4 separate regions of the Homo sapiens genome follow, and regions 1, 3 and 4 are each linked to region 2. The links are contacts of gene promoters, found by promoter capture Hi-C in blood cells and fetal thymus (Javierre and others, 2016). All regions are on one chromosome and are shown on one strand. The core of a region is centred on a gene start or on the middle of the fragment in contact, and the rest is flanking DNA. Distances in the headings are between cores, read along the strand shown.

Region 1 (6,690 bases), core at 2,251-4,750, 400 kb before region 2:
CCACCTGCTTGGGCCTTGCAAAGTGCTGGGATTACAGGCGTGAACCACTGCACTTGGCCCAAATCTGACTTTATGATTGAAGATAGATCTTCCTAAGAGACTGCTTTTTCCCATAAAAATAATTATATTAGGAAGAGCAAATAAAAATTTAAATAAAAGGAGCCTCTAATTGACCTTCAATTGATAGTCACAATTTTGCAAAGGAGAAGAGTCTATCAGCTCTCTCATTCCTACCTGACATCTTCCCCACTTACTGCAACATGGTCTTGGGCCAGTTATTTAACATTTCTGAGCCTCAATTCCCTTATCTGTGAAATGTGGATAAGAATAGTACCTACCACTAGGGTGGTTATAAGGATTAAGAGTTAATGTGTACAGGCCGGGCGCAGTGGCTGACGCCTGTAATCCCTGCACTTTGGGAGGCCGAGGTGGGCGGATCATGAGGTCAGGAGATTGAGACCATCCTGGATAACATGGTGAAACCCTGTCTCTACTAAAAATACAAAAAAAAAAAAAAAATTAGCCAAGCATGGTGGCAGGCATCTGTAGTCCCAGCTACTCAGGAGGCTGAGGCAGGAGAATGGCGTGAACCCGGGAGGCAGAGCTTGCAGTGAGTCGAGATAGCTCCCCTGCACTCCAGCCTGGGTGACAGAGCGAGACTCCGTCTCAAAAGAAAAAAAAAAAATTAAATAAAGAGTTAATGTGTACAAAGTGCGATGAACCACACCTGGCACCTAATAAAAGTTCCAAAAAATATTAGCTATTGTTATTGTCAAATTACCTCTATATAGATACATTTTCCTATCCTTTCCACTTTTCTTTCTCCTTCCCACATCAGCTTGTGAGAGAACAAGTCACTTCTAAGGATGCTAGGAGATTAGGAAGTGTGACCTGAAGCTGTGGTCACAGTCTAATCGTTTTGATAAACCCAAATGTTTAAATCCCAAAGAAAAAAAGTTCACCAAGACTGCCATATTGTACAACTCCAGGGGGCGCCATCCACCTGGTAGTCAGAGTGACTGCTGTTCCTGAAATTGTGCAGTGGACAATCCATGCAGCTATACATGGTAGCTCTGCATCCCACCATTCAATTACTTTGTTTATTTTCTTCACAATTCATTGTTTTCTGTTTCACGTAAAGTTATGTGTGCATAATGACATTTCAGTCAATGATGGACTGTGGACTGTGTTTAGGGTGGTGGTCCCATAAGATTATAATACAGCATTTTAACTATGCCTTTTCTATGGTTAGCTATGTTTAGAAACACAAATACTTACACTGTGTTATAATTGCCTACAGTATTCAGTACAGTAACATGCTGTCCAGGTTTGAAGCCTCGGAGCAATAGGCTATAACATATAGCCTAGGTGTGTGGTGGGTTATATCATCTAGGTTTGTGTAAATACATTCTATGATGTTCACACAATGACGAAATCACCTAGTCAGGGATTTTTCAGAATGCATCCCTATCGTTAATGCATGAATGTATGTGTAGTTATATACATTCACTGTATGACACACACACATAAAGCTTATCCATTGTTTTCCTTATACAAGTCTTTTTTTTTTCTTTCTGAAGGTGTTGACATTCAACTGGGAGTTATGTGTTTGTGTGCATCAAGGTTTATATTCACACCTACATGAAGTATTAATAGTGATAGAAAAACGTAAGAAGTAAAGAATAAATTACATTCAACTGTGTTGAAAATGCTCATAATTTATAAACATGATTGCTTTTTCTTCCCTCTATGAGATGATTACAAGTGGCTCAAAGCAAAGGATGTGAATAGAATCAAAATATTTAATTAATTGACCATTGAAGTGATAGGGGCTGATAGTAGATTTCCTGTCACTAAATGAAAGACATAGTCAAGCTGGGATAAATGTGATTGGCCAAATATCTCCACGACGTGTATGTCCGCTTTCTGTCATGTGTCTGTGGACACTGCCGGTGATTTGAATCAATATAACATTTTTTATTATTGTAAATAAAATGCTTCATTTAGTTCTTTCTCTGACATGAGGAAAAATTGTTCTCTGATGAACTACTTCAAGAAATATCCATTGAATTTTGAATACTGTGACAGTTTTATTTGAATTTATGACCAGTAATAGAACTACATACAGGTGGTACTGAGTTTCTACAAGATCCTCACTGTCATTTAAGCAACACAGATGTTTCCTTTATTCTTAATGAGTTAATCCCACTGCCATTCAAGCACAAGGAAGAAGGAGAAGGCGCCCAAAGGCCTATGTACCTAAAGGGAGTAGAATAAGCATAAAGCCTAGCTAATCTACAAATTTGATAATTCACCCTTGAATAATTGAAAATTTGATATATTTGCATTAGGAATGTGTAAATCAAGAGCACTGAAGTTCAACACATGCTGCGCTAAAATTAAAACAGTACTCAGATGGACTGAACCATGATTTATGATGTGCTTTTTTCAGTCCTTGGCATAGAATTTCCCTACTTACAAAAGAATCACAATGGAAAATACATAAAACTAGCTTTCCCTCTTGAGATGAATATTCTGCATATAATAATCTCTTGCTTCTTAAGTTACCATTCAGTTCACTTCAACAGTCATCTACTGAGCACCTTATTATGCTATTTCTGAAGATTCAAGGACGAATAAAACATAATCCCTGTTCTTAAGTTGTTTTCTCTTAATCCAAAGGATTGAAATAAAGTCAAGTGATCAAGGTACTGGGTTGGGGAGGCATGAAATAAGGTGTGAAAGGACGTATGGCAGACATTTGGGTCTTATTCTTTATAGCACTTTTTTTAGTAATCACTGGCAAATTGTTCTCCTACCCAGATTGCCTTCCCCTGTCTTTGTCAGCTCTTAGTATTGTCAACCTATCTTGTCTTGGGTTTAATAAAATATTCATCTAATAAATATGTGTGTTAAACTCTTAATGTACAAGTAACTTTTTAAGTGTTGTCAGTGACACAAAGTGATTGTCTTACAGCTGCTCACAATTTTCAATATTGTTTGAAAAGATAGTCACAGGAACTAACCCCCAAACAAGTCAAATGATGATTAACTTTATCATAGGATTATACATTGCACTCAATAGTGACAATGTAAAGTCAGAGTTCAGTGTGGAGAATCAGGTTCTTGACCAAGATTACACCACTGGTAAGCAGCAGAGCTGGGGTTTGAGACCAGGTCTGCCTATTGCCAACACCAGCATTCTTTTCACTTTAAAATTGCAACACAAAATAACATCATAAACATCAGTGCTTATCACAGACATATGCAAGGTTAAAATTGTTTTCAGCATTTTATGTGGAACTTTTACTTATTGTTATACTTTTGATCTATTGAGTGTCTTTTAGGGCCTTTTTCACACTCTAGTCTGTCCCCCCACCTAGAGGAGAACTCCTTTCTTTAGGATGCAGTGGAAAGAAACATGGACACTGAAGTATATCGCTGGTTATGTAGAGCAGGGGTCCTCAATCCCTGGGCCATGGACAAACTTTTCCCCCATCTGTGGAAAAATTGTCTTCCATGAAACCAGCCCTTGGTGCCAAAAAGGCTGGGGAATGCTAACATAGCGTCTTCAGTTTTCTCATCCATAAAAACCTCGCAGGGTTGTGGTAGAGATTAAAAGAAATAATTAATGCAAAGTCTCTAGCATAGCATGTCACTGACAGACCACTCTGGAAAGGTGAGTCATCTTCCCTTGAATTAAGAGAAAATATGCCTTTAAGTCCATCTGAGACAATACATTACAGCTGACAAGGACTGGAGGCCTATCTTGTTTACCTCCGTTGTTGCCCAGAGTGGAGCATGGAAATGCAGTGCGCTGATACTCTTTTCTCAAGGTCATATTGACAAATGTAAGCAGAAGTTTGATCATGTTTCTGTTCCTGTTTCTAGAGAAGTGACAACCTACTCCTAAAACATATTAAATAACTGGTCTGGATTTGGGGGAGTGTTATCCACATTTAATAGTTTCAATAATAAGATTGTGGGAAAATAATTGGCCTTCTGTAATTATTAATGATGTTGAACAACTTTTTATTGGTTTATTTGAAATTTATATTTTTTCCAGTGATTTGTCTGTTAATGTTCTTTGTCGTTTACTTAGTAATTTGCAGGAACTCTTGATAGATTATGGAATTTAATTTTTTTTTTTTGTGACGGAGTCTCGCTCTGTTGCCCAGGCTGGAGTGCAGTGGCGCGATCTTGGTTCACTGCGACCTCAGGCCTCCCAGGTTCAAGTGATTCTCCTTTCTCCTTTCTCAGCCTCCCAAGTAGCTGGGACTACAGGCATGCACCACTTGCCTGGCTAATTTTTTGTATTTCTTAGTAGAGCTGGGATTTCACCATGTTGGCCAGGCTGATCTGGAACTCCTGACCTCATGTGATCCACTCGCCTCTGCTTCCCAAAGTGCTAGGATTACAGGGGTGAGCCATGCCATCTGGCCTGTTGGTATATCTTTTAAATATAGCTTGTCTTCGAAAGATATATTGCATATCTTTTAGTTAGTTTAGGTTATCTTTTCCATACATGAATTCTAAATTTTTATGTAGCCCAATCTGCCAAATCTGACATGCCCTGTGAAACTCTCTACAATTCAAGGCTATATATATTTCTTCCATGTCCTAGCACCATTTGTTCAAAACAGTATACTTTCTCCTCTAAATTGCCTTTTCACCTTTGTCAAAAATCTGTTGTCTATATATGTATGCATGGTTTTATTTCTGGACTCCATCCTGTGCCAATGATTTCTTTGTCAATCTTTATTATCAATAGCACATTGTATTGGTTACTGTAGCTTTACGATATGTGTTGAAATCAGGTAGCATTAGCTCTCCAAATTTTTTGTTCTTTTTTGAAATTGTTTTGGCGATTGTAGATCCTTTGCATTTCCACATGAATTTTATTATCAGCCTGTCAAATTCTGCCAAAAGGCCTGCTTGAGATGGAAATGAATGTACAGCTCAAATTGGGAAGAATTGACATCTTAACCATATTGAGCCTCCTGAAGCATGAAAAAGGTATATCTCTTCATTTATTCAGATTTTCTTTAATCAGTGTCAGTAATGTTTTGTTGTTTCCAGTATGCAGGATTCTTACATCTTTGGTCAGATTTATCCCTAAATGTTTTCTAGTTTTTGGTGTTATTATAAATGATATTGTTTTAATTTTTTTTTATTTTCACTTGTTCATTAGTGGTAAATAGAAATACAATTGATTTTTTAATACATTAATTTTGTATCCTGCATGCTTGCTAAACTCATTATTAGTTCTAGTACCTGTTTTGTAGATTCTTTAGGATTTCCTACATAGATGGTCATGTTGTCTTCAAATAATGACAGTTCTACTTCTTTCTTTTCCATCTGGATGCCTTTAATTTCTTTTTCTTGCTTACAACCTCCAGTTAAATGTTTAATGGAGGTGGTGAGAGCAGACATACTTGTCTTTTTCTCAATCTTAGAGGAAAGCTTTAATTTTTACAAGTATGATGCTAGCTGTAGGTTTTTGTTTTTGTTTTTATAGATGCTGTTTATTAGATTGAGTATTCTCTTTTATACCTAGTTCGCTGAGAGTTTTTTTTAATCAGAAACCGATGTTGGATTTTTTCGAAGGCTTTATTCGTGTCTATTGAGACTATCATATGCTTTTCTTTTTAAATTAGTGTTTATATGGTGTCTTATATAATTTTTTTGAAAGTAAAACAACTTTGAATTCCTGGTATAGACCTAACTCAGTCATGATGTTTTATCCTTTTTAAATATTGATTGATTTGCTAAATTTTGTTTAGCATTTTGCATCTGTGTTCATGAGGGATATTGGTTTGTAAATTTCTTTTTTCGTTATGTGTCTGTGTGGTTCTAATATCAGGGTAATGGAGAACTCACAGAATTAGTTGGAAAGTATTTCCTTTTCAATTTTTTGGAAATTTGTGAAGAATTAGAATTATTCATTAACTGTTCATTCATGAATGTAACATTCATTAAATGTTTGGTGGAATTCACCAATAAAGCCATCTGGATCAGAGTTTTCTTTGTGGGAAGGTTTTTAACTGAAAATTTTGTTTCTTTAATAGATATACATATTTTTGTTTTGTTGTTTTATTTTTGAGATGCAATCTCAGCTCACTGCAACGTCTGCCTCTTGGGTTCAAGCGATCCTACTGCCTCAACGTCCCAAGTAGCTGGGACTGCAGGCACTCACCATCATGCCCTGCTAATTTTTGTTTATTTTTAGTAGAGTCGGGGTTTCACCATGTTGGCCAGGCTGGTCTCGAACTCCTGGCCTCAAGTGGTCCGCCCACCTTGGCCTCCCAAAGTACTGGGATTACAGGTGTGAGTCACCTGATGCCCGACCTATCTCTTTATATTATCTTTTTCTTCTTGAATGGGCTTTGGTAGTTTGTGTCTGTCGTGTGTCTGTCCTTCATCTAAATTGTTAAATATATTAGTTTGTGGTTGTTCATAATATTCCCTCATTATCCTTTTAGTATCTATGGATATCTATACTGATGTCATCTCTCTGACTCCTGATATTGGTAATTTGTGTCCTCACTCTTTTTTCCTGGTCAATTTAGAAATTTATCAATTTTATTAATCTTTGCAGGGTAGCTTTCAGTTTCCTTTTTCTTTCCCCTCCTCCTTTTTTTTTTTTTTTTTTGAAACAGAGTCTTGCTCTGTCATCCAGGCTGAAGTGCA
Region 2 (7,345 bases), core at 3,469-5,968:
ACTGCTAGACTGTTCTTACCTGTTTGGTCTTTCAGTTAATTGATTCAGTGTCTCTTTCTCTTTCTCTGTCTCTCTCCCTCCCTCCCAGACATCTGTCAGCAGTCCAACAGTCCAAGCAGGGTCCAAGGACAATGTAGACAGCCCTGGGCCTCTGCCTTACTTCCTGTGCTCACAGCAAGCTTAGCCTCTTTGGCTCTCCCTCCTTGGTGACCACATTCTTTATCTGCTGTTCCCCATGGAGGGCAGCTGTGTTCCTCTTTTTCCCTAGGACCTTAGAGTCAGTGCCCAGCTTCTGAGTGCCCAGTTATTCTCCTTTCCCAAGATGCTGCTGCTCAGGTTTTCCACAGTTTGCCTCTTCTGGGCTGGCCCCTCTGGCCCTCCAGACACACTTCTCTAGGTACATAGCTGATATGCCACAATTTAATTAGCCATTCCCTAAACACTGCATGTTTAGATCACCCATTTTTGTGGTGTTTTGTTTTTGTTTTTTTGCTAAATTAGAAAATTTTGCAATAAATAAAATCGTGCCTTTAGTCGTTTAAAATTTTTGGTCTGGTTAAGTTTTCACTAGAAAAATTGCCATAAATATATCAAATGTCATCAAATTTGGTACCTTTTTAAAGTTAAGAAATGAAAAAAATCCATATAAACATAGTTTACACATGTATATATCTCTATATAAATATAGGTATATATGTATACTTTTCTTTTTACCAATAAGAGCTTATATAATTCAGAAGGGGATTCCTCCACTCTTCATGATGAATTTAATATGGTCATCTTTACTTCACCGCTAGCCAAATTACAGTCTCTGTGCATCATATAACAAATTCCTAATGACATCACAAGTTATTTGACATCACAAATTCTGTATTCCATTCCTATATACATAATATGTAGATGCCAGTCTTCTATTTTACTACTCATTTACAAATAGTGGCTTTTCAATAAAATTACCCAGGTAAATTTTTATTCATATCTACAATGAATAAGCATTCTTTCTGTGTAGTGTTCTCAACCCTAGAAATCAATATATTACAATTCTGTAGTTCTTTCTCAGTGTTATGCTAGAATTCATGAAGTCAGCAATCTCCTATTCCTGTAGACATAGTGAAGATGCAAGAGCAAAAGTGAAAGTGAGAGACGAGGAACGAAAGACATCCACTAAGCCTGGGTTTCAGTGAGCTCACCAACCATTTCTTCATGTCTCTTTACCCCTAACAATTATTTAGCACTTGATCACATCATCACACAGTCCATATGATTCCCAGATTATGGTGGCTAAAATATCCAGAAACAGATTTTCTTGTCTTAATGAAACAATCAAATTCAATATATGGAAGTTAGCCTATTCTGCATCAACCAGAAAGTAGTCACTTCCTAACTGCATATGACAGACAGAAAAAGTACTAAAGGAAGTTATATACAATGAAACCATTAAATGCAGATTTGCCACAAGGCAAGATGGTAATACTTGAACATTATGAAGTGCAGAAACTGCACAAGCACATTATATTTTAAACACTTCATCTATTTAACAAACTATGTACCCTCTTCAGCTAAATAAGATGAATTGAGATTCAAGAGGCAGCACCATACTAGCAAATCTCATCCTAAAGGCATCCATTAATATAAATCAACAGCAGCAATTTGGTTTGATCACTTATTTGCAAGAATCATTAAGGTTTATTAGCATAATTGTTCCCTCTGGGATTTCATGTCGAGAAAATGAAGAATGGCATTATCAATATTTAAAAGATAAGTGTGTAATGTTCAGAGTATTTCAACAGTCATCTGCAGGTGGTGTCCAGCTGCAGCAAATTAGATTAGATTTGGGCATTTTTCTGAACGAAAGAAAAATTGTTTTGTTCTAATTGCTTTATTTTATAAAGCAATACCATTTCGTAAATAATTTTTACTGTATAGCTACACTTAACAGTGCACATCTATTAACATGCTTTATTTCAGATCAGCAACTCTGTTAAGTTCAACCCTGTTATATTGTAACTACTGGGGGACATTAATCAGTATAATTCATCATCCATTATAAGGAAAAGCTCCTTCCCCTCAGTACTCTAGACATTTTAGTCTAGACTTGTAGGTAAAAAGTTGTTTTCTAGAGGGAAATGAACGAGAAGACTTCCTTGTAATGTTGGGAAGGCATAAGTCCTCCCTTAACAATGAAGTATCATTTATGATAGTAATAATTTATTACTAGAAATAATATTTAAATGTAATAATTGTTTTTTAATAATGACATGCAATGGAATGTTATTTAGTGATAAAAATAAATGAGCTATCAAGTCACATAAAGATTTGCAGGAACCTTTAAATGAGTTTTGCTAAGGGAAAGATGCCGGTCTGAAAAGGCTACATACTGTATGATTCCAAAGATACGACATTCTGGAAAAGGCAAATCTATAGAAACAATAGAAAGATTAGTGGTTCCCAGGGGTTTGGGAGGAAGGAGTGAGGGAGAAATGAATAGGTAGAACACAGAGACTTTTTAGGCAGTGAAACTATTCTGTATGATACTGTAATAATAGATATATGACAATATGTCTCAATTTTCTGACCTCAAGCAACCTTCTTGCCTCAGTCTCCCAAGTAACTGGGATTACAGGTGCAAGCCACCACTCCTGGCCAGATACATGACATTATGTATTTCTCAAAACCCACCTGGGAGCAGTGGCTCATGCCTATACTCCCAGCACTTTGGGAGGCCAAGGTGGGTGTATGACTTGAGGTCAGGAGTTCAAGACCAGCCTGGCCAAACTGGTGAAACTCCGTCTCCACTAAAAATACAAAAATTTGCTTGTAGTCTCAGCTACTTGGGAGGCTGAGGCAGGAGAATCGCTTGAACCTGGGAGGTAGAGGTTGCAGTGAGCCGAGATCATGTCACTGCACTACAGACTGGGCAACATAGCCAGACTTCATCTCAGAAAAAAAACAAAACAAATCCTCATAGACCTGTACAAAACAAAGAGTGAACCCTAATGTCAATTACGAACTTAATCATATTAATATTGGTTCGTCAAGTGTAACAAATGTACTACACTAATATGTAATGCTAAAAATAGGGGAAATTGTATGGGTGCGGTGGGGAGGAGAGGTGAGACGGGGAATTCTCTGTATTCTGTCAATTTTTCTGTAAACCTAAAACTGCTTCGAAAAAGGAGCAAAGTCTATTAAAAATGTAGTAATTGTTAGGATAATTTTTTAAAGGTTAAAATCAGCTAATTGTTACAATTGATTAAATTTGTCTTGGATTTAGGTCAATATTCTGGCCAAAAATCTTTTTCTCAGATTACCTATGAAATTATATGAATCCTTCTACCATATCCAAGGGTATACTGGAAATGAGGAATTATAACTGAAGTTCCCTTTAGAGACGAAAGTCTTCATTTCGAGAAGTAAACAGTAAAAAACATACATGTTTGCTGAAATACTTTGCAATGTCACTATTTCACTATTAGGAATTAACAAATTAAACCCCACACTCTATTGAATGTGTTATACCCTGTTCAACCCTGAACCCATGCCTGTCTCCTGTCTCTTCTATACAGTGCCCAACCCTTTGCGGAGATGGATATGCCAAGAAGAGAAATTTATAGCAGGCTGCCTGCTTTGCTCCATTCCAGATCAATTTACACAGAACACCCAGAGGGCAGGTTTACGCCTTCTCTCCATTTCTCTCAAACAGTGATGGCAATGAGTGGAGTACTAGAGACAACATAGATATGCAACCACGGGATAAATGACCAAAGGACAGAGAGACGAGCGACCTCAGTTGTATGATGGAACCAAGAGAAGTCGCTGATTTTTAGTTGTTTTGATCTGGTTGTAAGGATGGGGTGACAACTTCCAAGCTTTTACACGTCAGCACTGAAACTGCAAGTCCCATTTGTTATTAATCTTTAAGCAGACATATTGCTACAGAAGACGGACTCCAAATTAGAATAACACAAAGTTATACCACTAATCACCTTATACAAATATTTTAGTGTTGACAAGATTTCTCTGAATGTATCATTTCTAAAATCAGTATATCTAATTTCTCTGATCCATTATCATTCTTAAACTTCCCATTTAAAATGGACTTTAGTGTCTAACCTGCCTATGGAATGAACCAGATCAACATCCTGCCATCATGTAACGTGCTCTCTCTTGGTACCTGGACCACATAGCAGAGTAAGATTCATGTGGCTCATAGATTTTAGTCCCAAAATTTACCAGCAGCTTCTGCGGGGGGGGGGGGGGGGCGGGGGGGTGAAGTGAAGGCTGCTGGAAGCTCGTGCTACCCTCAGTGCCTCACAACCCAGCAAAGGGGACAGCGACCTGGACTCCCATTGCTGAGGATTAAACCAGTCATCGTCCCTAGCAGAGACCTGGCTGACTAGGCACTTAGTGTGCGGGATGCTCCATGCGTGGAAATTTCCTTCGGCTCCATGCATTAGGCAGTAGTTTGCGTATTTCTCTGTGCGCAGTCTCCACAGTCCCGAACTTGGCTCCCAAACCCACTGAAACCACAGTTCGGCCGCTGGAGGGAAATCGAGCTTCCCTAGCCCACTGCAAAGTGCTTGGGTCAGGCCACAGTCTGAACTTCCCGCTTTTCTAGTTTAGACCTATAGAAGTAGCCCTCCTGCCCTGGTCCTAAGAAGCTCAATGCCGATTGTATCTTATCGCGTCCAATGGGAGGCCACGTTCTGCGTGGGTCACTTTTGGTCGAGCGGAGGGCGCGCAGCTCCACCGTTGCCAAGACGCCGCGTAAACACCCGAGCGCGCGCAGCCAGGTGCGCTCCTTGGGGCTGCTGGCTGCTGCGTTTGCGGCGGGAGGTGGTGGCCGCGGTCCCACGAGAGGGGGTATTTTTCGTCAGCCAAGATGGTGAGCCAGTTGGGGGACTTGAAACTACTTGTTTATTGTTGATTTAATTCTAGTTTGGCGCTCATCTGCTTCTAAAAAAGGATTTTAAGTGCTTAATCTGGTCATTAATTGGGGAACTTGTATTTGCTTTCGGAGGCTTCAGGTGCTATTAGAAGGGACGCTCGCGGTGGTTTCCAGCTTTTTTGGCACTTTTCGCATAGTGTATTAAATACATCTTTAAATCTGCCCAATAGAACCTCTGAAGAAATAAGTAGATATAAAAGTGTAGGAGAAAGCGAATTGATAAATAGCGGCGAATTGACCTATTACATTTATGTTAGGAAAATCTGACCAGCTTCTGAACAGCACTTTATGGCCCTGTGGTGGTAGTCGTGGTGGTGGTGGTGGTGGGTGGAATGAGGGGAGGAGAAATTCCCTGGTGGTAGTAAAGATCTGGGTCTGTAGGGTGCGATTAATCCTAGCACAGCTATTTATTAGCTGCAGAACCTTGGGTAAAGTTACTTTTCATGTTTCATCTATAAAATAGGTAATAATAACAGTACCTATTTAATCGATATGTGAACATATTTACCACGTTTACTTTTTATTCGGTATACTCCTTTGAATTTAGGAAGGAAGCCAGGCTCTTCGTATCCTTTCTTACTAAGGTTTATATCAATACATTTTTTAAAATTAGATTTTGGAATATCAAAATATGCATCTTTTTTTTTCTTCCATCGTAGGGTTCCAAAAGGAGAAATTTGAGCTGTAGTGAAAGGCATCAGAAATTAGTAGATGAAAACTACTGCAAAAAATTACATGTCCAAGCTCTAAAAAACGTCAACAGTCAAATCAGGAATCAAATGGTGCAGAATGAAAATGATAACCGTGTTCAGCGCAAGCAATTTCTCAGATTATTACAAAATGAACAATTTGAGTTGGATATGGAAGAGGCCATTCAAAAGGTAAGTTTTACTATTCATTGTTACTTTTTTTTTCATTTTGCACCTTGGAAACGATGAAAGTCAGCTGTTAATGCTGGAAATGAGTAGATAAACAACAGCAGCAGGTAAGTGATGCCTGATTGTGCCTCAGCTCGGTGTAATCGTAAAGACCTGGGTTTCTGGAGCCGGCCTGTCTTTGAATCCTACTACTGCTATACCTTAGCTACGGACCCTTGAGTAAGTTGCTTTTACTTTTTTTTTTTTTTGGATGGAGTCTTGCTCTGTCGCCCAGGTTGCAGTGCAGTGGCACGATCTTGGCTCACTGCAACCTCTGCCTCCGGGGTTCAAGCGATTCTTCTGCCTCAGCCTCCTGAATAGCTGGGACTATAGGCGCGCAACACCACGCCTGGCTAATTTTTTAATTTTTAGTAGAGACGGGGTTTCACCATATTGACCAGGCTGATCTCGAACTCCTAACCTCGTGATCCGCCCGCCTCGGCCTCCCAAAGTGCTGGGATTATAGGGGTGAGCCACCGCGCCCAGCCTGCTTTTATTTTTTATGCTTTTTCTATAAAATGGGGAATAAGAATAGTACCTCCTACTTAGGATTGTTTTAATAATGAGTTAATACATGCAAGACTCTTGGAATAGTGCCTGGTACAGAATAAGCACTCAGATTTTTTTTTAACATAAATATGAACTCTGTAATTACTACCAGTTTTGTTCATGTAAGTACAATTGTGTTGCCTTTCATAAATTTCTAAAAACAAAAATTTAGGGGTGCCTTTAAAAAATTTACTGAAATTAATGTATACATTATTAAGTGGTAGAAAATGAACCCTTAGGTATATCTCAACATTTTAAGGGATTAAGGTGGTAGAAAAGGGAAACTAATAAGAATTGAGACATGATAGAAGTGAATTCTCATAAATATATAAAAGGTATTCTGATATGTCAGTAGTTTTTGAGTAGCTGCTGTATGTTAAACATTTTGGAGGATTTTGTGGAGAATAACAAAAGCAAATTTAAAAAATGATATCCACCCTTCTGTGTTCCAAATTCAAAAGCTTAGATATGATTTTTTTTTTTAACTCTGAGAAAGCACATCTTAGGGGTTGGATATTTTTCCTATTCTTATTATTTTCTCTTTAATTTGAAAGAATATCCCAGGTATCACACCAACTCTTTCCTACATAGTTAAGTGTACATCTAACAAAATATGGATGTTTTCTTACATGGAGTACCATAATACTATTATCTCACCCATTCCATAAACACATTTCTGTGATTGTGTCAAAAATCTGCTTTTACAGTTGGTTTGTTTTAACCAAGATCCAAGGAACATTCATACGGTGTATTTGGTGGTTATGTCTGTTTAAGTCCCTCTTAATTGAAAACAGCCCCTCCTTCACCGTGTTTTTCTTTTTTGACTTCATGTTTTTAGCTTGCTAAACTAAGCCAGTTGTTTTATCCAGTAGCCCACATTCTGAATATACGTGTTTGCTTCCTCATGTTCCTTTAATTTATTTCCCTATCT
Region 3 (7,227 bases), core at 4,156-6,655, 430 kb before region 2:
AACCCAGTCATCACATACTTTCTTTATTTACTCAGTTTATATGGTCAGGTTCGGTGAGATAAAGGTGTTATTGGTCAAAACTCATTAAGTGAAATTAGTTAAAATTCATAGCTATATTAAAAAAATAACTCCTACCTGACAGAACAGTTAACATTCACCCTTCAAATTATAGAGGACCTCAAGCATCAAATGCTTAAGCAGAATGCAGAGTGTGTTTGGATTTGTGCAGTTTCCATGTTCTGCTCTCAAGACACTTACAGTCTACCATGCCAAAACAGAAAACTGATATAAATGCATTTCAGTAGGCAGTTATGTTAATTTCCCATTCTTTTATTTCATTTTTCTTAATTATAAGGTGAGGGTTGTGTGGATGGTTGTAAGGATGGTTACTGGATAAAATACAGGATGCCCAGTTAAATTTGAATTTCAGATAAACAAGGAATAATTTTTTAGTATAACAAATATTGTATGGAACATGCTTATTTTAAAAATTATTCCTTGCTTATCTAAAATTCAAATTTAACTGAGTGCCATGTCCTGCATTAAATCTAGTAACCCTACGGATGAGTAGAGCATAATGATGAGTGATCCTTGAAAATTTTTTTTAAAACAATATGTCTTATAATATAGAGTAACACTTCTCAAACTGTAATATTTACACAAATCACCTGACTGCTTGTTAGAAAGCTGTATTAGTCCATTCTCACACCACTAATAAAGACATACCTGAGACTGGGTAATTTATAAAGAAAAAGAGGTTTAATGGTCTCACAGTTCCACGTGGCTGAGGAGGCCTCACAATCATGGCAGAAGGCAAAGGAGAAGTAAAGACATGTCTTACGCGGTGGCAGGCAAGAGAGCGTGTGCAAGGGAACTGCCCTTTATAAAACCATTAGATCTCATGAGACTTATTTACTATCACAAGAACAGCACAGGAAAAACCTGCCCCATGACTCAATTACCTCCCACTGGGTACGTGTGATATGTGATATGTGGGGATTATGGGAGCTACAATTCAAGATGAGATTTGGGTGGGGACACAACCAAACCATATCAAAAGCAAATCCAAATTCTGCAGATCTGGAACAGGATCTGAGATTCTGCATTTCTTTTTTCTTTTTAATTTTTTTAATTTTTTTTTTTTTGAAATGGAGTCTCACTCTGTTGCCCAGGCTGGAGTGCAGTGGCGCTATCTTGGCTCACTGCAAGCTCCGCCTCCCGGGTTCAGGTCATTCTCCTGCCTCAGCCTCCCGAGTAGCTGGGACTACAGGCGCCCGCCACCACGCCCAGCTAATTTTTTGTATTTTTTAGTAGAGACGGGGTTTCACAGTGTTAGCCAGGATGGTATCGATCTCCTGACCTCGTGATCTGCCTGCCTCGGCCTCCCAAAGTGCTGGGATTACAAGCGTGAGCCACCACGCCCGGTCTGAGATTCTGCATTTCTAAAAAGCTTCCATTTGATATTGATGCTGCTGCTCCATGGACCACTCTGCAATGACGCAGTGGATATCTGTTTTGGGGGGAATTTTTGTTTTTGTTTTGTTTTCCCAGCTGCCCAGCATCTGAACTGTCTAAGCTTGGAGAATTCACTGGTATGTGAGTCTTAGAAGTAAAGCCTGATTCTCACTTTCTAGAAACTGATAGAAGTCATCACATAGTCACTTCACCATCCCCCCTTGCAACTTGGATTCAGGTGCTTGAGCTACCCTCCTCTAATTAGAAGCACCTGCATGGCTTTGAGTCAGAAACTAATAACCCAAAGAAGCAAGGATAGCAGTCAGTTCTCTTTCTCTTGCAACAGTGCAGTTGTGGCCAAATTGAGTTCCCAAAGCAGTGGTGTTGGTCAAGAAAGGAGCAGAGTCTAGCATGCTCAGCAGCATTAGTAATAGTAATCTTCTCACTGGGTTGCCTCTGCAGCATTATTTTGGGCATTGGTCTTGGCTGCACCACTTTGAGCTTGGTTCTCAACTCACATAATGATTCTGTGGGCTACCCAATTCCTTTGCCGCTAAATCATGCAGGATTGATTTTTGTTGCTTGAAACTAAAAACCCCATTGAAGCCAAAGGGTCTGCCAGAAGCTAGATGGCTTGCACAGCCCCGTCAGATGCACTATGTTTATGGAATGCCACCTAGGTCACCACTCAGCTTGATCTTTGCCTCACAGAGTGAAGAGGGTTCAGAGAGAGAGGCAAATGCCCTCTAGGTGGAAGGGTATCTATTCCCTGGCATACATTTCTATGCCTCCTCTGGAGAGGTTTCTGACAACGACTGCTTTTGGCTTAATAGGACTAGATTTATATGCTAACCCTGTCACCAACTAGTTATGTACATGAGTTTGGGCAAATTACTTAGCCTCTATGAGCTCCATTTCCTTGGCTGTGAAAGGGAGTTAAGACATGTTTTTATTATTGGATTTTTTCACATTATACATGATTATTTTACAACTTTTTTGAAGTATAATTTACATATAATAAAATTCACTCAAGTGTACATTTCAATTACTTTTAGTAAATTTATTGAGGTGTGCAGCTATTATTATAATCCAATTTAAAAGCATTTTCATCACCCCCAAAAGATCCTTCATGATCATTTATAGTTAATCACCATTCTCACCCCTAGCCCAGCAAACACCAATCTGCCTTCTGTCTCTATACATTTTCCCTTTCTGGACATCTTATATAAACAGAATAATACAATTATAACTATTTTTTACACTAGCTGTTTCTGCTATACAGACAGTCCCTGACTGACAATGGTTCCACTTAGGATTTTTTTTGACTTTATGATGGTGCAAAAGTGATTTACGTTCAGTAGAAATTTTACTGTTGAGTACCCATACAACCATTCTATTTTTCACTTTCAGTACAGTATTCAATAAATTACACAAGATACTTAGCACTTTATTATAAAATAGACTTTGTGTTAGACAACTTTGCCCAACTGTAGGCTAGTATAAGTGTTCTGAGGATGTTTAAGGTAGGCTAGGCTAAGCTATCACATTCAGTAGCTGTATTAAATGCATTTTTGATTTACAATATTTTCAACTTAAAATGGGTTTATTGGAATATAATCCCGTCATAAGTGGAGAAGCATCTGTATAGTGAGTTTCCTAAAAGCCTATATCTCTATATCTAACTGAATTGTTTATCTACAAAAGACATAGCACAGTGTTTGTATATAGTTAAGTGCTCCAGATAAGAAACAAAACACTGATACTTTTCCTATGATGTGGTTGTGGTGAAGATTAAATAAATCCATTAGACTTTTGCTACTCCAAGTGGTATCAGCATCACCAGGGAGCTGGTTAGAAATGTAGTCTCAGGGCCCATCCCAGACTTAGCGAATTAGAATCTGTAGTTTCACAAGATTCTCAGGTGATTCACAGTCTCATAAAAGTTTAAGAAGTACTATTCTATTGTAAGTTCTTTGAGGGCAGGGATTACGTGTGGCACATAGCATGTGCTCAGTAGTATTTTTTGTTTGAATAAATGAATGGTGCCACATAAGAAAGTATTTTGTAAACTTAAGTCTTACATACACAGGACTTTAAGTATAGGACTTTAAGTCCTATATACACAGGATTGTGAAAGAACAGCGGTATAGATTTTGGGCTTAACTATAAAATCTTTTAGAGAAAGTTTGGACTGGCACTTATAGTCCTAGTTTACATATCGAAGCAAGTATATTTATTTTTCTTACATCTGAGTGACAATTCCATGAGGAAACCGAGTTTTAGATAGGAAATATAATAGTCCCTTAACTGAAATTGACTTTATAGTGAATTTATTAGCATGACAATTAATTATGAAACTTCTGAAGATTGACAAAATTTATTTGGTTCTATTTTCTGTAAGAGATAAGATCTTGATCAACAGCTAGGAAGCTGATGGTCAGGCTTTACGGGACAGGATTGGTAGATGTTGTATAGTTATTATCAACCTCTAACAAGGAAAACCCATCTAGTTTTCCACTTACAGTCTTCTGGCTTGAAATGCTTTAATTTATTCATTTAATCATTCTTCAAATCATCAAATATTTATCAAATTTGTCACTCTGACGAGTGCTGTGCCAGGACTTTCTGATGGATTGCCAGGTACAATATTCTTGAGGAGTTCCATATCAATACAATGACGACACCTTTTCAACTACATGGGCTAACAAAAGACTTTTTATGAATTCATGAATGTTAAAGTCTTAAAATGCTATTAAAATCAAACCACATTGGCTATATATTTAACAAGTCTGTTGAAAAGGGTAAAGTTATATTTTCCAGATAAATCCAGTCTATATGGTTAATACTTACAGAATAGGAATTGCTTGTACTTAGGGTTGCTCAAGGAATATAAGAGGGGTGTCCTGGCAATTTTCCATTTGCACCTACAGATCCATTTTTTACCCTATTTGTCTTGCTTTTTACTGGCAGCTGAACTCTACAGACTGTGCCACACAAGCCCTCTGGTTTCTGGTTTGGTCAATGGGAGGTACCAACAGAAGTTTGGAGGATGGGAGGAAAAGAGGACAAGTGTTTATTCCCCGGTCCTTTGCTGGGCCACATTTTGGCAGTGACTGTATTTCTTTATTTATAGTAACAGCCTTTGTCAGGCATCCCTTTCCAAGCTACAGCTCTTACAGGGTTCCACTAATAGCTCCCCTCCCCTGTTCCTTCAAGCTTAAGGTCTCCCATTGTTGCCAGTCCTTAAGTACTTTACCATTCCTTGTTGGTTCCCTTAACCATTCCCATCCCTCTATAAATTATCCCTTTATTAAGCTCTTGTTACCTTCTTAGAGTGTGCCATCTTTAGTAATAAAAGAAGAGGCCATAAATCAGCCAGTATCTAAGGACCGCCTGCTGAGGTGGCACTGTTAAGACATATAATACATGATCTTGCTCTTGAGACACTTACAGTCAGCCCAGTGAAGGAGATAAAACCAACACATGTGAAGCAATTAGGAAACACTACACATTGTCATCTAATGAGATACTCCGTTTGTTTGCCTCTTACTAACATTCACCCTTCTTCTGGTAACCATCCCCTGATTTTCCTCTTCTGTTACTTCAGTCAATGTCTTTTGGGTGGAGTGAACTTCATTTTCAAAAACATTAATGACATGAATCAGACCTGAGCTACTGGATTCCTCTAGCCACATATCCCAATCAGAGCCAGTGAAATGTAAGAAGACTATTGCTGGCACCTGTGGGAAGGAAGCATGCACTCTTCCACTGAGATTGCTAACAGTAAGGATTATGTAAACTGGAGCTGTCAGCAGCCACCACATGGAGCCTAAAAATGAAGCCAGCACACAAGACAGAGTCAAGAGATGAAAAGAAATAGAATTCTAATGACATTGCTTAAGCCCTTGGATCAAACTATGCCTTAAGCTAAATATATAACTAGTTTTTCACTAAAATAGCTCTAACAATTCATAAATTGATACCAGGAATGGGGATTAGTAACAGAAAGATCCAGAAATGTTGAAGTAGCTGATTCAGATGAGGCCTCATTGGTATCAGGCTGGGACTTCGATACCAAAGCAGTAGGTTAAACTGGCACCTGTTGTATAGTGGGATTCAGAACATGTGCCTATCAAGGATAAAATGTAAAAGGGCCTGTTGTTAAAAGGTCGGATACTAAAATATATCAACTATTACTTGTTAGTTTTTAGTAATGTCCTTTAAGAAAGGCTCAAACTTAGGACTAAGATTGATTTATCTAAGGCAGAGAGGAAAAGATACCACTTTGTTACAAGTGAACATTTTTGCTTATAGGCTGCAATAAAAGATGACAGAAACATCAATAATCTGGAGCCATAAAGGGTTGAAAAAGCCCCAAGAGGATGTTAATGTTAATGAAGGCAAGAATGGATAACATTGGCACTAGGGAGAAGTCTTAATACACTCAGGCCTCTTTCAAGCAATTCCTGCCTGCTGAGAAAGGTAATAGTTATTCCACTCTACTCCCTCCACCACCAGCTCACACACCATCATCACTCCCTCCCCTTGCAAACCCAGTGGCTATTGTTTCAAATTGTTATCAGGCAGAAACCAAAATAGAGGCCTCTAAGTTAGAATACCAAGGCCTATTACTAAAAGACAAAAATGCTCAGATGAAAATCTAGATTCAAAGACTGAAGCTTAAAAAAAACCCTCTGGCTTTGGAATTCTCCCCCTATGGAATTGGCCAGATGCAAATAGACTAGAAGTTTACTAAGAATTAAAGAAAACTGGGCGAGGCACAGTGGCTCATGCCTCTAATCCTAGCACTTTGGGAGGCCGAGGCAGGCGGATCACCCGAGGTCAGGAGTTCAAGACCAGCCTGGCCAACATGGTGAAACCCTGTCTCTACTAAAAATGCAAAAATTAGCCAGGTGTGGTGGCACACACCTGAAATCCCAGCTACTCAGGAGGCTGAGGTGGGAGAATTGCTTGAACCCGAGAGGTGGACATTGCATGAACTGAGATAGCACCACTGCACTCCAGCCTGGGCAACAAGAACAAGACTTTGTCTCAAAAAAAAAAAAAAAAAAAAAAAAGAATTAAAGAAAATTGTACTGTGAGAGAAATCCTAAGTGTGGAGAAGAAAGGCTAGGTTACTTAAGCTTAACACAATAGATATTTATTTTTCACTTTTGTAAAGTCTAACATCAGTGCCCCTAAGTAGCAGGTGGTCTTCTACAAAATCATTCAACTACCCAGACTCCTTCTATCTTATGGCTCTAATGTCCTCCAGGTTCTTAGAGACCTTTCAGTGCAGCCAGAAGAGGGAAAAAGAGACTGGCAAAGGCATACCTACTACTTAACCAAATTGGCTAGAAGTGGTACACATCACTTTCACTCATATTCCAATGGAGACAGTCATGTGACTTTACCAAAGTTAACAAGGAGGCTGGGAAATGTAGCCCCTGGCTAGGTAGCTACTTCCCAGCAACAATTGTATACAACAGAAGAGGTTCACAACTCTTGGGTGGTAAAAGCTAATTATCTTTGCCATAGGAAGTGATTTTTCAATTCCCACTAGATCAGGAAGGAGAATGCTGAAGAGGTGTAGTCCCTAAAGGATTATCCTCCCATTGTCCATTACAGACATAGCCATGGAGGAACAATGAATGAGAGGTCCTCCAGAAATAGAACATATGGCAGCCAGATTGGTTGATCAAAGAACTTTCTCCCCTCTCATGTTAGGAAGCCCTTGCTATTCCTGTCTAGCAAGATATGACATATGCTATG
Region 4 (6,931 bases), core at 3,114-5,613, 470 kb before region 2:
GAACTACCATTTGATCCAGCAATCCCATTATTGGGTATCTACCCATAGGAAAAGAAGTCATTATATGAAAAAAATACTTGCACACACGTTTATAGCAATTCACAATTGCAAAAATATGGAACCAGCTCAAATGCTCATCTATCAACTAGTGGATAAAGAAACTGTATATATATACATGATAGAATCTGTATATATATACATGATAGAATACTGTGCAGCCATAAGAAGGAACAAATTAATGGCATTCACAGCAACCTGGATGGAACTGGAGACTATTGTCCTAAGAGAAGTTAACTCAGGAATGGAAAACCAAACAACGTATGTTCTCACTCATAAGCAGGAGCTAAACTATGAGATACAAAGGTATAAGAATGATACCTTGGACTTTGGGGACTCAGGGAAAAGGGTGGGAGGGCGGTGAGGGATAAAAGACTACATATTGTGTTCAGTGTATACTGCTTGGGTGATGGGTGCACCAAAATCTCACAAATCACAACTAAAGAACTTACTCATGTCACCAAATACCACCTGTTCCCCAAAAACCTACGGAAACAAAAAATTTTTTTAAAAAAAGAGAGACACCAAAGGGCACATATGAGACCCTCCCACCATACACACACATACACTGAGGGCACAGTGAGAAGGTATCCCTCTGCAAGCCAGAAAGAGAGCCCTCACCAGAAGGTGACCATGCTGGCACCCTGATCTCAGGCTTTTAGCCTCCAAAACTGTGAGAAAATAAATTTCTGTCGTGTAAGCCACCAAATCTATGGTATTTTGTTATGGCAGCCCAAGCAGACTAAGACAGATTGGAAAAAGAGAGCAACTGGCAGCAAGAAGACCAAGTAAGGAGACTACTGCAATGTCCAGTAGCAAAGCAACAGATTACACAGCAAGCAATTAGCTACAGAGAAAAATAAGCTACCTCACTTGGCCCCAAGATTCTTAGAAGTTATATTCAAGAACCCTCACTATCCGTTTCCAAGGTCTTTAGTTTTGCTGTTTCACCTACCAGCTATTCTCATCGTTGCAATTTAAGATAGATCTTCAAGAAAGCATTAGGAATTATTACAAAGAGAGAAGCTGAGACAGAAGCCCCAAAATTTTCTTGAGTCCAGTCACGCAACTGTCAAATCGTTCCATGACCCTTTTCTCCCAAACCCAGTTAATGTCTTATTCTGAAGAACAATCAGCAAATAGCTCCTATGAAGGCCACAAGTACACTGACCTCCATCAAAGCTACCTCAATGGCTCTACCGGCACTGGGTTCCAAAGGAACCCAGTAGTCTCCTTACTTTGGATTTGTCAATTCCCTTCTTCAAAATAATGTAAAAACTTGTAAACAATACAATCGCATAAGATACTTAGGAAGTCATGTAAAATCCCAATATTTCCCAATATAAGGTAAGACAGCTATTTTATATACCCAGACAGACACTCTAAATGGAAAGGGACAATACTGGATGCTGCAGGAGCATCTTCATCACAAAGTCCTAATCACGAAGAACCAGGAAACAGCAGCGTCATCAGCAGACAGATCCAAGTCCTGTCATTCATGGATATGACTAAGTCAGACTTTCTTCCTTCAAGCATAAGCTTACAGCAGACAAGAGTTTCTCTAGCGTTTCATAACCTCCTCTTTGTATCGTCTCCTCCTCACTCAGGAGTATAAAAGTGTATCTGAACTTTTTAACTCTTTAAAACGTTAACTCTTTAGTGTCACTAAAATTTTGTTGAGATTACTGCTTATCAGTACAAAGTAGAAGCAGACTATTCCTAGGAACTATTCAGCTGTCACACATTCATACTTAAGCCTGGGGTTAACTTTGTCACTACAGCAGATCCTCAACAAGCATTTTAAAAACTGAGCTGAGAATAAAGGACTGAAGGGCACTAATATGGGGGCTCTATGGTTTGGAATACAATTAACAGAATCCTCACAAAGACTATGTCTGAGGATTTATTTTACTTTAGTGCTTCAATTTCCCCCATTTAACCAAAAAGACTCATCCAAACAATTCTGAGATTCTGATGAATTTATAAGAGATTCTGATGATTCATCAGAATTCTGACATTCTGATGAATTATATACAAATATTATATATATTTCATTCTGATGAAATATATATTTATATGTAAAATAATATGTAAATTACATATTAAAAATTATAAGGAGTTCCATAGGCTAGTGTTCCTCTCAGTCACCTGATTTAATCTTCAATAACTGACCATCAGAAATGTTTAAGTTTTATATGAAGATTCCCTCTCTCCATATGTATATGAAAAGCTTGGAATCCCTTTCAAGACTTGCTATGCCACCTAATAACTAATATCTGTACAGACCACAAACCTCCACATTTTAGAATTTCCATAAAAACTTTTAATCTGCTCATTATCACAACACCCTCAGGCAGTATTTTTATTGTCCTCATCTTAGACATAAGATAAACAGACTCAGAGAGGTTAAAATATTCTGCCCTAGGATCACATATCTAGTAAATAATAAAGCCAACACTAAAGCAAGACTTCGAATCTCCAAACTGCTCCTCTTTCAAATATACCACAATGTATCTTTATTTTCCACTACCTTAAACAAACCATTCTACACAGAACAAAAAACAGAGCATTAGTAGGTACTCGCTCAAATACCTACAGATGCTCTTTAACAAAACAACAGCCCAATCTACTTCTAAGTAAATAAAAATACAAAATGAACTAATCTTAACCCTTTCAATATTAGCATTATTACCTTTCATTTAATGAATTAAAAGTTCTGTTCTATTAAAGTATCTTCTGTATGTTTGATAACATTTTTAAACTACTTTTGGAATAAATATTTTCCATCCACTTTAACTTGTTTTTATAACTAAACACTAAATCTTTGAAAAAGGGGAAATAATAAAAATTTTCCATACTATGAAGTAACCATTCTTTTCTCTGACCTCAACTAAATGGTAGCTGTGAATATTCCAATATCTTCCAACTATCAAATTTCATATTCTTCCCAACTCACAAAGTCTAAAGACAGCTTAACAATAAGACCACACAAAAAAAGAATTACACTTTTATAAAGCTATCTGAGGTTGTAGCTATTTATATTTAATGTCTTGAAATACTAAAAATAAAGTCCTTAATTAACTATTTTATGGAGGCTTTTAATTATACTGTTTTCTCCTTAATAAAAATAAATCGGCCAGGCACAGTAGCTCACACCTATAATCCCAGCACTTTGGGAGGCCAAGGTGGGCAGAATTAAAGAACAGCCTGGCCAACACAGTGAAACCCTGTCTCTACCAAAAATTACAAAAATAAGTGTGGTGGCAGGTGCCTGTAATCCCAGCTACTTGGAAGGCTGAGGCACAAAAATCGCTTGAACCCGGAAGGCAAAGGTTGCAGTGAGCTGAGATTGCACCATTGCACTCCAGCCTGGGCGACAGAGCCACACTCTGTCTCCCAAAATAATAATAATAATAATAATTAAATAAATAAATCTTGAAGCACTTTTGGAGAATATCAACAGTACCCCATTTAAGACTTCTTTTTTTCTTCTTGTCACCTTGGCTTCAGATAAGACTTCTTATTATAACAAATTTCAAAGATTTCTAGAGATACTAAATTCCTCCTCAAGACAAACCATGCTCTTGTAGATTGGTATCAGTGCAGGTGCAACTACAACTGATTAGAGTTTGCTACTTCTGAGGGGCAATAAGAAACCACAGGCAAATGTATTTCACTGTTGATTTCTCTATTTCCTCTGTAAAATGAACAGTTACCAACTTCCTACAAGAGTTATGAAGTAAATAGCATATGAGTAAATATTTATGAAGCACTCTTATCATCACTGATTTTGTTTTAAAACAATAAGATTCCTCCCCTTCTCCCAATCATTCAGTGGACAAAGTCCTACTGCTATTATAACTTATTTGGCAAGTCTCCAGAGTCAAACTCAGTGAGAATAGAGTCTGCTCGCTACAGGCACTGTTCCTAAGCTTGAGAAGAGGGATTATACAAATATGAAGGCAAGAGAGACCCTGGCACTATGGCATGTTTTGTGTTCCTGCAGTACAGCATCTCAAACCCCTACAAACTTTAAGTGGATTTAATTATTCAACATTGTATCATGGTTCTTAAGACAATAACACTAGCAACAGTACAAGCAACAGGCTTGCAAAGCCACCAGAAAAGTCAATGGCTTACTGGTCTACCTCTCAAAACAGACTACAGCAAACTAGTTTATTACACACTTCATTACTACTTTCTTAGTTTATATTAAACAGTAGTGGGTCTGAGCCAATAACAAGCTCCTGAGGAAAATTTTACACTCAACAGAATCATAACCTGTTTTTAATTAAGATGCCTGTAATGAGTATATTTCAGGAATAAGCATCATGCTACTAATCTATGAAAACTTTTCACCAATATAAAAGGAAAGAATAAAGTTTACCAAAGACTGATTTTGTCTGTTCCCTACAGCAAAGTATCTTGGCTCTACTTTTTCTTCTTGAAGATGATTAGGATTTTCTTAACTGTTTGCTCTCAGTAAAAATTCAAAAAAGTATGGTCAGGGCTGAGGCTTCCTTATGGTAGAGATCATATAATGCTTCTTATATATACAAAATGGGGACCAAATGAAAAGAATTCTACACTCCTGATTTTTACCCTGAAAATTTCTCTGCATGCTTTAACTGACCAGAGAAATATCAGCACACTCCTTGGCCCAAAAGATGAGAAAGCTTCTCTCTCCTCAAAACAGATCTTGATTCCCTAAATCAATGTATTGGGTGGACTACTCAAAGAATAAAACTCAGCCTGAAAAGCTTATATTCCAAGAAGAATTTGCTTTATATAAACAAGTCCACCACAATTTTTTTTTCTGTATTTAAAATGATGAAGTCTCTAGTTGAGACTTTTGAGAACAAAAAGTTCTTACTGTGAGTTGAAAACAATCCCTGGGGTGGGGGGTGAAGGAACGAGGGAGAGGAGGAGGAGAGAGAGAGAGACAGATCTCCATAATACCTTTTCTAAAATCCATGGGGCCAGGTGGGTTTTAGAACTCAGTTTTTCAGATTTTAGAAAGGAAACATAGTATATAGGTATATATGTCACACGCTACAAATCAGCTACTGGCAACCACACAGGAACTAGGAAAATAGAGAATGTCAATGGCCTCCCTTCAGATAAGATCAGATTTAGCCATCAAAATACTTCATGCTGAAGTTAACTGTGGTTGAGATCTTTTTGGATTTCAAAACTGCAGATAAGGGACTGTGGATCTCTAACTGGGAAAAGGGGATCTTGACAAATAAAATATGCTATCACCTAGAATAAAAAAAAAACTAGCTGATACTTAGATAAAAGATATTAAGGATACTTAGAACAGTCTTGCAATGCCTCTAATTATCTACCTAATTGGAAAGTTACAATCATTTTAACTTATATGTTCCTATCAAGAGATTCAACATGAAACACTTTTCCCTTTAACTCTATTCCCAACTGAGAATAACACTAAAAAACATTTTCTAAAATCCGAGTATGTCAGTACCAAGTAGATTAAGTAAATGGGCCTCCGGACCACATGACAAAGTTGGCTAGATATAGTGGGGTTTCCAAATAGGAAAAACCTAAAAGGATCCTGCAGGAGAACTCAAAGATTCTTACCCTTGGCACAAGTGCCCATATAAGCTCAGATTTTCTAAACTGACCTGTGGTCAAACCACGCTACTGTTTAAAGTGAGCCTAGCATTTTTTACACTCCAAAGGTACAAACCAACCACTTATTCATCCCCAACCACCTCAAAACAACAACATATGCCTCTGGGACCAAGAAGCTGGATGACTGTAATTCCCTCCCAGCAGAGATACCTTCCATGCCCAACCAACATTCACAACTCTTGCCGACAGCAGCAGCACATTCACTCACTGACTGGAGTAGCCATGATTATATTAAGTCCAACCTGTGTTCACTGTATCAGCTACCAATGAAGTGATGAAAGAGTAATTATGAGTCAATCTTGTTCATTTTTAAAGCCTGGAAATAGCTCACAGGCAAAACTAACAGAAGCAAATACACTGACAACTTTTGAGGGAGGCCGCCTCCAGAGAGACTTCCATTTGGCAACTAGAATGATCTTCCATAGATTACCACAAATTTAGAGAAACTCCCTCAGTTCAAATTCAGGCACCTTCCTAACACCACAGAGCTGATAAAATGACATCTTGGGCCAAATTATCCCAATTTTAATAACCAAAATACAGTAAGTTATGGTAGTAGTGGTTTTTTAAGGGAAAAAAAGGTAGTATTTTCTGTCCTGTACCTTATCTCAAATTGTTTTATTATATTATTTTGAAGGTTTCATCCCTGAGTCACCACCCACTGCAATAAAAATTAGTAACCAATCTCTAATGCATTTTCTTTTCTGTGGGATCTTTAAATGTGATCTTTAGGTCCCCAAGCAGCTTACAGTAGCTTGGATGACTCACCATGGTCTTTATGAGAGCACATTTTTAACCTGGAACACATGAGAGCACATTTTAAACATGGAACAAAAAAAAACCAAAGCTCTCTCTATAAAAATTACATTTTCTTTTCAAGTCAAGGGTATCTTTAAAAATTACAGAATGATCTGGCTGGAAACAAGAAAGTTTCAAATAACAGTCATGTTATTAACAAAACTATCTGTGCTTCAGTTTATGAAAATAACAGTTTTCTTTCTACCAAAACCATTTTTCCCCCTGATGTAATGATCCCTTTTTACAGGCTTCTATAGGAGCAAGAAAAGGTGCATGAAAAAATACAGCTAAAGATATGCTCTAGAGTTGGGCTTCTCATTAAGGATTGGCCAGCATTCCATTCCACCCTGACCCTTATCCCCAAAGATACAAACCAAAACAGGAGGAAGGTAATGCCATAACCCAAAAATGATGCAACTTT

Evidence for each region. Contacts are between HindIII fragments. The CHiCAGO score rates a contact against its expected background, and 5 or more counts as called.
Region 1: a contact is called between a fragment that was not itself captured here and the fragment with the promoter of MNS1 in region 2, in 1 of 17 cell types (fetal thymus). The highest score is 5.4, in fetal thymus.
Region 3: a fragment that was not itself captured here is called in contact with the fragment with the promoter of MNS1 in region 2 in 1 of 17 cell types (fetal thymus); the score reaches 6.1 in fetal thymus.
Region 4: a contact is called between a fragment that was not itself captured here and the fragment with the promoter of MNS1 in region 2, in 1 of 17 cell types (fetal thymus). The highest score is 8.1, in fetal thymus.

The regions. Positions count from the first base shown.
Region 1 is chr15:56,864,074-56,870,763 of GRCh38, reverse strand. No RefSeq gene overlaps it. Among named protein-coding and RNA genes, the nearest start is that of LINC03065, 20 kb to the left of the region's middle. The HindIII fragment of the contact is 3,931 bases long and covers 1,535-5,465 here.
Region 2 is chr15:56,462,510-56,469,854 of GRCh38, reverse strand. It overlaps MNS1 (meiosis specific nuclear structural 1), which reads left to right and starts at 4,718. Exons shown (of 10, transcript NM_018365.4): 1 at 4,718-4,885; 2 at 5,608-5,829. The coding sequence starts at 4,883. RefSeq lists an enhancer at 1,166-1,215 and a silencer at 4,539-4,788. The HindIII fragment of the contact is 3,006 bases long and covers 3,872-6,877 here.
Region 3 is chr15:56,890,843-56,898,069 of GRCh38, reverse strand. The region is part of intron 2 of TCF12-DT (TCF12 divergent transcript); the gene reads left to right. Among named protein-coding and RNA genes, the nearest start is that of LINC03065, 7.4 kb to the right of the region's middle. RefSeq lists an enhancer at 5,660-6,219. The HindIII fragment of the contact is 1,463 bases long and covers 4,674-6,136 here.
Region 4 is chr15:56,929,109-56,936,039 of GRCh38, reverse strand. The region is part of intron 3 of TCF12 (transcription factor 12); the gene reads right to left. Among named protein-coding and RNA genes, the nearest start is that of TCF12, 14 kb to the right of the region's middle. The HindIII fragment of the contact is 744 bases long and covers 3,992-4,735 here.